Linked DNA regions of Homo sapiens: region 2 is linked to region 1. The links are contacts of gene promoters, found by promoter capture Hi-C in blood cells and fetal thymus (Javierre and others, 2016). All regions are on one chromosome and are shown on one strand. The core of a region is centred on a gene start or on the middle of the fragment in contact, and the rest is flanking DNA. Distances in the headings are between cores, read along the strand shown. Region 1 holds the start of YY1AP1 (YY1 associated protein 1). Region 2 holds the start of CFAP141 (cilia and flagella associated protein 141).

The links. Contacts are between HindIII fragments. The CHiCAGO score rates a contact against its expected background, and 5 or more counts as called.
Region 2: a contact is called between the fragment with the promoter of CFAP141 here and the fragment with the promoter of YY1AP1 in region 1, in 1 of 17 cell types (neutrophils). The highest score is 5.1, in neutrophils.

What each region holds. Positions count from the first base shown.
Region 1 is chr1:155,686,558-155,691,250 of GRCh38, forward strand. YY1AP1 (YY1 associated protein 1) reads right to left here and starts at 2,217. Exons shown (of 11, transcript NM_139119.3): 1 at 2,102-2,217; 2 at 1,514-1,644. DAP3 (death associated protein 3) reads left to right here and starts at 2,534. Exons shown (of 13, transcript NM_004632.4): 1 at 2,534-2,617. It also overlaps the pseudogene LOC124904430. RefSeq lists enhancers at 1,623-2,257, 2,633-2,682 and a silencer at 2,093-2,142. The HindIII fragment of the contact is 12,603 bases long and covers 1-4,693 here.
Region 2 is chr1:154,204,005-154,208,697 of GRCh38, forward strand. It overlaps CFAP141 (cilia and flagella associated protein 141), which reads right to left and starts at 2,329. Exons shown (of 4, transcript NM_001010979.3): 1 at 2,271-2,329; 2 at 1,594-1,634. The coding sequence starts at 2,303. It overlaps LTAP1 (lipid transport auxiliary protein 1), which reads right to left. Exons shown (of 7, transcript NM_001098616.3): 7 at 2,716-3,644. The coding sequence ends at 3,449. The HindIII fragment of the contact is 7,725 bases long and covers 1-3,168 here.

The DNA of each region.
Region 1 (4,693 bases), core at 967-3,466:
TCACCTCAAGGCATGGACCATTCATTGAATGGTTATATTTGTTGAATGAGTGAAAAAGGATCCTTCCTCCCACAGATTTCAAGTTAAGCTGTCAGCACCCATGCAGCTGCTCTGGTACAAGTTAAGCTGTGAAAGCCTTCTCCCTCACGCATACAACCTTAAGTGTCAGAAATGCTCTGCTTCCTCCATAAATCCAAAATAATATAGCCATGGATATGCATTTCATACAGGTCAGACTCGGCAAGGACAGCTACGTTCCACATACATATCTGACACAATCGGTCTCCCCCAAATACAAGCCAACCAGTCTTATGTGCTCCTATCTTTCCAGCATACTCAGATTTGCCGACAAAGACTTCCTGAGGCACCATGGTATGCTGAATATACTGCTGCAGTAGTAGTGAAAATATGGGAGTTACAGTTCCAACTTTGTCACCAATTTAACATGCGGCCTTGGAGAAGTTCTCTCCTTATGCCTAAATTTCCTATTTTGTAAAATGGAAGAAAGCATCCTACCATTTTCACAGAGATTCAGTATCACAAAGAAACTGAAAGAGCTTTCTTATTGTATTGTAAACTATTACTATAAACCCGCGACAACAAATAAGGCCACCCATTCTTTACAGCTTTGTAGCAATGATTCTGTTAAAGATATTTTGGCCCTTCACATTTACACAACTCACTCTAACCAAAGGCACAAACTATTCTTAAGACCACAACTGGCTATGCCAAGTTTCTCCCCTCCCTGACCTCACAGACACATGCTGTACAGAACACTACCATTGCCGCTCTTTCCCAACAAGTAACTAGGGGCTCCCAATCCCTAAAATACACACACATATCAACCTGCAAGGAACCTCCCAACATTTATTCAAGAAATAAGCTAACTTATAAGGGGAACTCCATTACACTTACACAAATAAAGGCAAACTCTTACGGAAACACTTGCCATCCTCACATACACACACCAACACAGCCGCTACACACCAACAGACCATCTGTCTGCTAGACCAAAAACATCTCTTTCCATGTACAAACTAACCAGTGACATTTATTAAACGTACAACACTGAGATCATCCTGTCGTTCCCACATACCGTTCAACGCGGCAGGGACACCACAGACCTTGTCACACAGGTAAAATCCCCTCTCAAGATCGTGTCCTCGACCACTCTTATCCCTTAATTAAACACACACAAACTGGACTATGGGGGAGGCTCCGATCATGCCTACAAACACAAACTAACCTGTCAGGGGCACAGCCGACTCCGCCTCCACTCGCTTACTTCCCAGCCCCCTCCGGGAGTCTGCCTGTCAGGGACACCCCTTCACCCCGCCTGGAGGGACTTCCCGGTAGGCTCAGGATCCCCCTCCCTGCTCTCCCCTCCCCCATCTTCACCACTGCTCTCCCAGAGGTCCAGGTCCGGGAGATGACAGTGGCTCCCAGAAAGCCCAGGATTCAATCGCTGAGAGAGTGCTTAGGCCCGAATGCCGGCCCAAATCGTTCTACTCACCGTGTCGGAGGCCGAGAGCGATGAGAGTACAGGGAAGTGAGGAAGAGGGGGTGGCCGCCAGGCTCCTCCGCTTCCCTGGGTCCACCGCGGATCCCTCCCGCTTGTCAGGAGGCGGCCAGCGGGTAAGCCGACTGGCGGAAATGCGAGAGAGGAGAAGGGAAAGGTGGAGGGCTAAAGGGGCAAACTGAGAGGAGGCGGATCCCGCAACCGACACTGGGATCGTTTCCCCTCGCAAAGCGAACCCAAAATGGCGGCGGCAGCGGCGGCAGCAGAGTGGCCGCGGCAGCTCCTCCAGAGGGAGGGAGCTAAGGGCGCCTAGCGACACCCCCAACCTCCCACTCCTCCCTCCTCGCGTTCTTCCCCACGGTCCCCCGCTTCGCCCGACTCCGGCCATGTAGCGCGCACGTCAGCCCGCACGCGTACGAGTGTCTACGGGCTCGTCGCTGGCTGCTCCCACCAACCACCACCTTCGGCCGTCCTGCGAGCCAGCCATCCCGTACGCGCTCACCCACGGGAACCTCCTCGCCCAGTTCTCCACTCCCCCTCAGACCCTGTCAAGCCGGCTCCAGCGCAGGCCCTCACGCGTACCTTCAGCGGCGCGAGCCCAAGCCTTCTCCACCTCCTCTTCTCTCCTCCCCCTCCCTCCCCGCCCGCACGGCCACCAACCGCCGCCAAAGCAGCCGCCGCCAGCACCCCCACCCTACACTCCTCGCGCGTGCGCCTCCCACAGTCCCCACCGCGGGACTGTTCCATTCCTGGCGGCTGCAGGGGCAGGAGAGGAAGGGACCGGCAAAGCGAGTCTGGCTTGCCGTTTGACTGGAATTGCCAGGGTGGCCGGCCGAGTCCCATGACAACCTACCTCCCTGGGTTCGTCGCCGCGGCGCTGCGGCTCGCCTCCTCCTCCATGGGACCGCGGCGAGGGGATCGAGGGCGGCCTAGCGCCCCTCTGCCGGCCGGTGGTTGGAGGCCGCGGCGGCTGCGCGTTGAGTCGTTTCCTGCCGGATGACCCGACCCTTTTTTGCAGTCTCAGGACGGGCGCTTTGGAGCCGGCCCCAGGCAGCGTGTGTCGGTCGCCTAGTCTGGAGAACTAGTCCTCGACTCACGGTGAGGGAATGGACCGACACGGGTATTGTACCGCTGAGGGAAAGGAGCGGGACTCCGGACCTCCAGGAGGTAGGGAGTGAGGCCGGTAGACCGGCGCGCCTCCGGGGGGGATTCCTCCCGGGCGTTGAGTTGCCAACCTGGGACCCGAGGAAGTTCGGCGTGGTGGTGTGCTTTTTGTTGTTGTTAACCCTCCTCGGATTTCTCGAATTTCACACCACTGTCCATATGCGATGATGTTTGTTTGCCCTTGACGCACTTACTCATGGATGGTACTTCAGCCTCGTTAGACAGCCTGGTGATGGAGGATGAAGAAACCATGTGCTTCTCATTCAGTTCTGGACTCAGTTTCCCTTGTCTTCAGCAAGTTATTTTTGTTAGTTCCTTATCAAAAAGTGTACATAAAAATTAGGCAACTCCAAACATGCCTCCAGGGTTGGTGTGTGAAATAATAAGATAGGGCTGGGCGCGGTGGCTCACGCCTGTAATCCCAGCACTTTGGGAGGCCGAGGCAGGTGGATGACAAGGTGAAGAGATCGAGACAATCCTGGCCAACATGGTGAAACCCCGTCTCTACTAAAAATACAAATATTAGCCGGCCGTGGTGGCGGGCGCCTGTAGCCCCAGCTACTCGGGAGGCTGAGGCAGGAGAATTGCTTGAACCCGGGCGGCGGAAGTTGCAGTGAGCCGAGATCGCGCCACTGCACTCCAGCCTGGCGACAAAGCGAGACTCCGTCACACACACACACACACACACGAAATAATAATATATGTAAAGTGGAATTAGCTCCTAGGCATAGGGAAGGTGCAGAGTATTGCCGTGTTGTCATTTACAGTTCTGTTGATGTCGATAACGTTTGTGGGTGTAATGGGTAGTGTTCTGTCCCTCCAAGTCGTTAATAAAACAAAGCAGGCCGGGCGTCTTGTTAAATAGTTGTATCAATGACTTGATTTAGATTAATGAGGATATATTTTTCAAATTTATGCCTTTTACAAAATTTTTAAAGAGTAGGTAATGTCGGTGATAGATATAAAGAAAGGAAAAGATCTCCAGATGTGGAATCTTCTACTGGATCCTGTAACAGAAAGAAGACATTAGGCTGGGCGCAGTGGCTCACACCTGTAATCTCAGCACTTTGGGAGGCGGAGGAGGGCGCATTGCTTGAGCCTAGGAGTTCGAGACCAGCTTAGGCAACACGGTGAAACCCCATCTCTACAAAAAGACACAAAAATTAGACAGGTGTGGCACACGCTTGTAGTCTGAGCTACTTGGGAGGCTGAAGCAGGAGGATTGAGGAAGAGGTTGCAAAGTTAGCCGAGATCACGCCATCACACTGCAGCCTAGGTGACAGAGCGAGACCCTGTCTCAAAAAAAGAAAGAAGACATTAGCAGAAAAGCTGAGGAAATGCAAATAAAGTCTGCAATTTTTAAATAGTATTGTACCAGCTTTAATTTCTTAATTTTGAAAATTGTACCATGGTCATATGTATGTAACATTAAGGAAACTCTAATGAAAATTGTAAGAAAGCACTTTGTACTACCTTTGCAACTCTTCTGTAAATTTACACTTTTTTTTGTTTGTTTGCTTTGAGATAGGATCTATGTCGCCAAGGCTGGAAGGCAGTAGTGCAGTCCTGGCTCACTGCAACCTCAAGCTCCTTGGCTCAAGGGATCCTCCCACCTCAGCCATCTGAGCAACTAGGACTACAGGCACATGCCACCACATCCAGCTAATTTATTTTATTTTTTTTTTGAGACGGAGTCTCGCTCTGTCACCCAGGCTGGAGTGCAGTGGCGCGATCTCGGCTCACTGCAAGCTCCGCCTCCCGGGTTCGCGCCATTCTCCTACCTCAGCCTCCTGAGTAGCTGGGACTACAGGCACCCGCCACCACGTCCAGCTAATTTTTTGTATTTTTAGTAGAGACGGGGTTTCACCGTGTTAGCCAGGCTGGTCTCGATCTCCTGACCTCATGATCCACCTGCCTCAGCCTCCCAAAGTGCTGGGATTACAGGCGTGAGCCACCATGCCCAGCCTCCACTATCGAACTTTAGAACATTTTTTATCACCCCCAAAAGAA
Region 2 (4,693 bases), core at 1,079-3,578, 1.5 Mb before region 1:
TGCTTAGACCCAGGAGGCGGAGGTTGCAGCGAGCTGAGATCGTGCTACTGCACTCCAGCATGGGCAACAAGAGCGAAACTCCATCTCAATAAATAAATAAATAAATAAATAAATAAAAGCAATAGTCATGAACATTCTTGTGTATGTACCTTCTAGTGCTTTTCCAAGTATGTATATTTAAGATAAATTCCTATTTTTGCCAGTTCAATGGATATGTAAATTTAAATTTTGATAGATTTTATCAAACTGCCTTTGTAAACATGGCTGTATCAACCTAGACTCCTATTAAAATCATATATGTTCTTGTTTCTTCACATCCTTGCTAGCTCTGGATATAACCCGTGAAACCTTAAAAAAAGGCTTCTCCTATCCCATTTCAGACCACTTTTATCAGAATCTCCTAGGGTTAAGAACTAGGCATCAGTGCTTATTTATTTATTTAAATTAAGTTTTTTGGTAGAGATGGGGGTCTTGCCATGTTGCCCAGGCTGGTCTCGAACTCCTGAGCTCAAGCAATCCACCTGCCTTGCCCTCCCAAAGTGCTGGGATTACAGACATGAGCCAATGTGCCCAGCTCATTTTGTTTTGTTTTGAGACAGGGTTTTCCTCTCTCACCCAGGCTAGAATGCAGTGGTGGCATCACTTGACCTGAGCTCAACTGATCCTCCTGCTTCAGTCTCCTGAGTGGCTGAGACTACAGGCATGCACCACCACACCTAGCTAATTTTAATTTTTTTGGTAGAGACAGGGTTTTCCTATGTTGCCCAGGCTGGTCTCGAGCTCCTGGGCTCAAGCAATCCCCCTGCCTCGGCCTCCCAAGGTGCTGGGATTATAGGTGTGAACCACCATGCCAGGCTTGCATCAGTGTTTTTTTTTTTTTTTTTGTAGAGACGGAGTCTTGCTCTGTCACCCAGGCTGGAGTGCTGGAGTGCAGTGGTGCGATCTTGGCTCACTGCACCCTCCGCATCCTAAGTTCAAGCAATTCTCCTGCCTCAGCCTCCCGAGTAGCTGGGACTACAGGCGCACACTACCATGCCTGGCTAACTTCTTTTGTATTTTAGTAGAGACAGGGTTTCACCATGTTGCCTAGGCTGGTCTTGAACTCCTGAGCTCAGGCAATCCTCCTGCCTCAGCCTCCCAAAGTGCTAGGATTACAGGCGTGAGCCACCGCGCCCGGCTGCATCAGTTTTTTCAAAAGTTCATCAGGGTGAAAAGGATACGTAGCCCAGTCTTGTGAATCTTCTCATTCACTGGTTCAACAAATACTGCACTACCAACCACATAATTAGTACAAAGCCAGGCAACAAATACTTGAATTCTTGATAAAAAAAGAAAATAAAAACATGCTTCAATTTTTCTCCAGAGAATGAGGCAGGGGACAATAAAAACCAATCTATATCACCTAACCTAGTAGGCACTAAGAGGCTGATCTCATTTGCTTTGAGGACAAGGCTGCTTCTCACCCCTTCCGCATCTGTTTTCCTCTTGATGAGCCCCTAAAGAGATGCAGCAGAGTTGGGAGGTGGCTCAGGGAAGACAGCAGAGTGGAAAGGTCAAGCTCAAAGGTAAAGGGAGGGGATAGAAGCAGATTACCTGTCGACCGTCTTCTTAAGTCCCATGGCCTTTTGAAAACTCTGCAAGAAAAGGTAGTTCTGTTGATCTGCCTCAGTCTCCAGAACCTCTATTCTAATGAGAGACATAGACCTTTTTTTTTTTTGAGACAGAGTTTTGCTCTTGTTGCCCAGGCCAGAGTGCAGTGGCGTGATCTCGGCTCACCGCAATCTCCGCCTCCCGGGTTCAAGCGATTCTCCTGCCTCAGCCTCCGAGTAGCTGAGATTATAGGAATGCACCACCATGCCGGGCTAATTTTGTATTTTTAGTAGAGATGGGGTTTCTCCATGTTGGTCAGGCTAGTCTCGAACTCCTGACCTCAGGTGATCCGCCCACCTCAGCCTCCCAAAGTGATAGGATTACAGGCGTGAGTCACCGCACCCAGCCACATAGACCTTTTTGAGAAAGCAATTTCCTGGGGGGAAATAGGGAGAGGAAAGCTCTACTTTCAGAATGGATCAAAGAAAACACGCAGGGGTTGGATAGAACACATATTTGAATACCTACTGTGTACTAGACACAGCCTCCCACTCCTGTTACTAACTACATTATACCCTTGTTACATCAAAAGCCTTTCCCAGTAAAAGATGCACTTATAGTAAATTGATCTGGAAACTTCATCAAACTTCAACCCAGCCCCTCCTTCCAACTCTGCATACCTCTTCTACTTTTGTCATCTTTTCCACAGACATGTCTATAGATTTGCTTGATACAGTCTGAGGAGACTGACAGGCTCCTCTGTTTAGTTCAGTAACCAAGGTTTCAGTAGTCATAGTAACATTTACACCTCCAACAATAACCCTGGGCCTAGGAGTTGATTGGCCACCTGGCCTGTTGCCCCAGAAACCTTGAGAGAATCCTTGTTCTGCAGCCTTCTGTTGGTGACACAGGCATCTATGAGCAAGGGCCACAGTCCTGATTTTAGGATTTCTTGTGCTAGGGTCCCAAGGAGTATGTGTATGGTCGTAGGTCCAGGGTATGCACACAGTCCCACCAATTCTCTGGAGGCAAATCCTCATGCCCTATACCCTGTTAGAAATGTGCAGATAACATTATCAAATGCCTGTTTTATTAAAAGACAACTATAAAGGACTGATTCATACGTTTTATTTGATAATAGTTCATTTTATTAAATAATTTATAAAGTCAGACCAGTGCATTGGGCTTGTTAGGGGAAACCATTCCTTCCTACTGTCACATAGCCTGGCAGATTATATCAGGTGCCAAAACATTCCCTTTTATTCAATTTATTAATGAGAGTGTGGAATTAAAGTAGATCCTTGCATGTCAGGAAAGCTGCAACACATCTGGTTTAAGTGGAGCACAAAGGTAAGTTATTCCACATTCACCAACTTCCCCACTTGACCTCCCACCAGTTCCTGTCTGCTTTTTCCATCAATCAACTCTAAGATGCCCTAAACCCAAACAGTTCCCATTCAACTGTGCACAAAGGTATAGATATGGAAGACATCTCACTCCAACTCTCACCTTTGGAATTAAATAAACCTGGAACAGGGAAGGTGAACTATGGCTGAAACCAAGTGAAGATTTTTAAGAAGCTTTGACAGAAACATTAAGAATAACACCTGAATGCAAATCCAGAAAAAAGCGCTACTGGGGGAAAATAGTCTTAGCCAATGTTCTAAAAATGCTCATAAGGAAGGGTTGGGGAATTACCCTTTAGACACAAGCTCTAAGAACTCTGGATACAACGGGAACTTGGATGGATACAGTCTGGGCCTGCTGGGCCAGATGTTCCGAGGGCGGCCCGGCAAGCAGCCTGTCTTGCACATTGCAACTGACTGGCTTAATCTACGGCAAGAGTCCTTCAGCTCCGTCACAGAGTACTCTCCAATGTGTTATAGTTATCCTTAAAGCTCTTCAATTCAAGGAAGTGCTTGGCACGTTTACTCTTCTGACTGGAGGGGAGGTATGTCACCTGGATGGTTGTTGGGGAGACCTCAGGGGACTGAGTTAGGTCTTTGGCTGCTGACTGGTGATGTCGCTGAGAGCTCCCAATTCGTGCTTTAACCCTGAAGAACAGAGAGGGGAGGTCATTGACAGAATGAGGACTAATCAAAGAAATCAGGGCTTATCCCAGGCCATAAATGCAGCAATAGTCACAAATAGTTATTTGTGTCCTATCTGTCCTATTTTGTAAACTAGTTACTAAAACCCCATCTAGTAGCTTAGAAATACAAGAGGCTGAGCGCGGTGGCTCACGCCTGTAATCCCAGCACTTTGGGAGGCCCAGGCAGGTGGATTGTTTGAGGTCAGGAGTTCGAGACCAGCCTGGCCAACATGGTGAAACCCTGTCTCTACTAAAAATACAAAAATTAGCTGGGAGTGGTGGCGGGTGCCTGTAATCCCAGCTACTCGGGAGGCTGAGGCAAGAGAATCACTTGAACCCAGGAGGCAGAGGTTGCAAGCCAAGATTGCGCCACTGCACTTCAGCCTGGGTGACAGAGCAAGACTCCATCTCAAAAAAAAAAAAAGTAGCAGAGAGGCTGGGCATGGTCACTTATACCTGTAATCCCAGCACTTCAGGAGGCAGAGGCCAGAGATCGCTTGAGCCCAGGGGAGTTTGAGACCAGTCTGGGAAACAAAGTGAGACCCTATCTCTGCAAAAAATTAGCCAGGTATGGTGGCAAGCACCTGTAGTCCTGGTTCCTCAGGAGGCTGAGGCAGGAGGATCGCTTGAACCCAGAATTCGAGGCTGCAGTGAGCCATGAATGTGCCACTGCACTCCAGTCTGGGCGACAGACTGAGACCCTGTCTCTCTCTCTCACACACACCCTAAAAAAGTAGCAGCACTCCAGCCTGGGTGACAGAATAAAGGCCCTGTTTGGGTACCCTGACACACACCTACTCATACCAAAAACAACTAGCAGCAGAGAAACCAATTTCCCAGAGTTCTTGCCTCTGGCTCAAGCTTTTTTTTCAGAGACAGGTATCCCCAATATAGGTATCACCTTGTTTTGCAGATTAGGAAACTAAGGGTCCAATAATTAGCTTGTATGAGGTCACAAAACTAGTTAAGTGACAGACCTGGGATTCAAACCTAAGTTTGTCAGATTTCAAA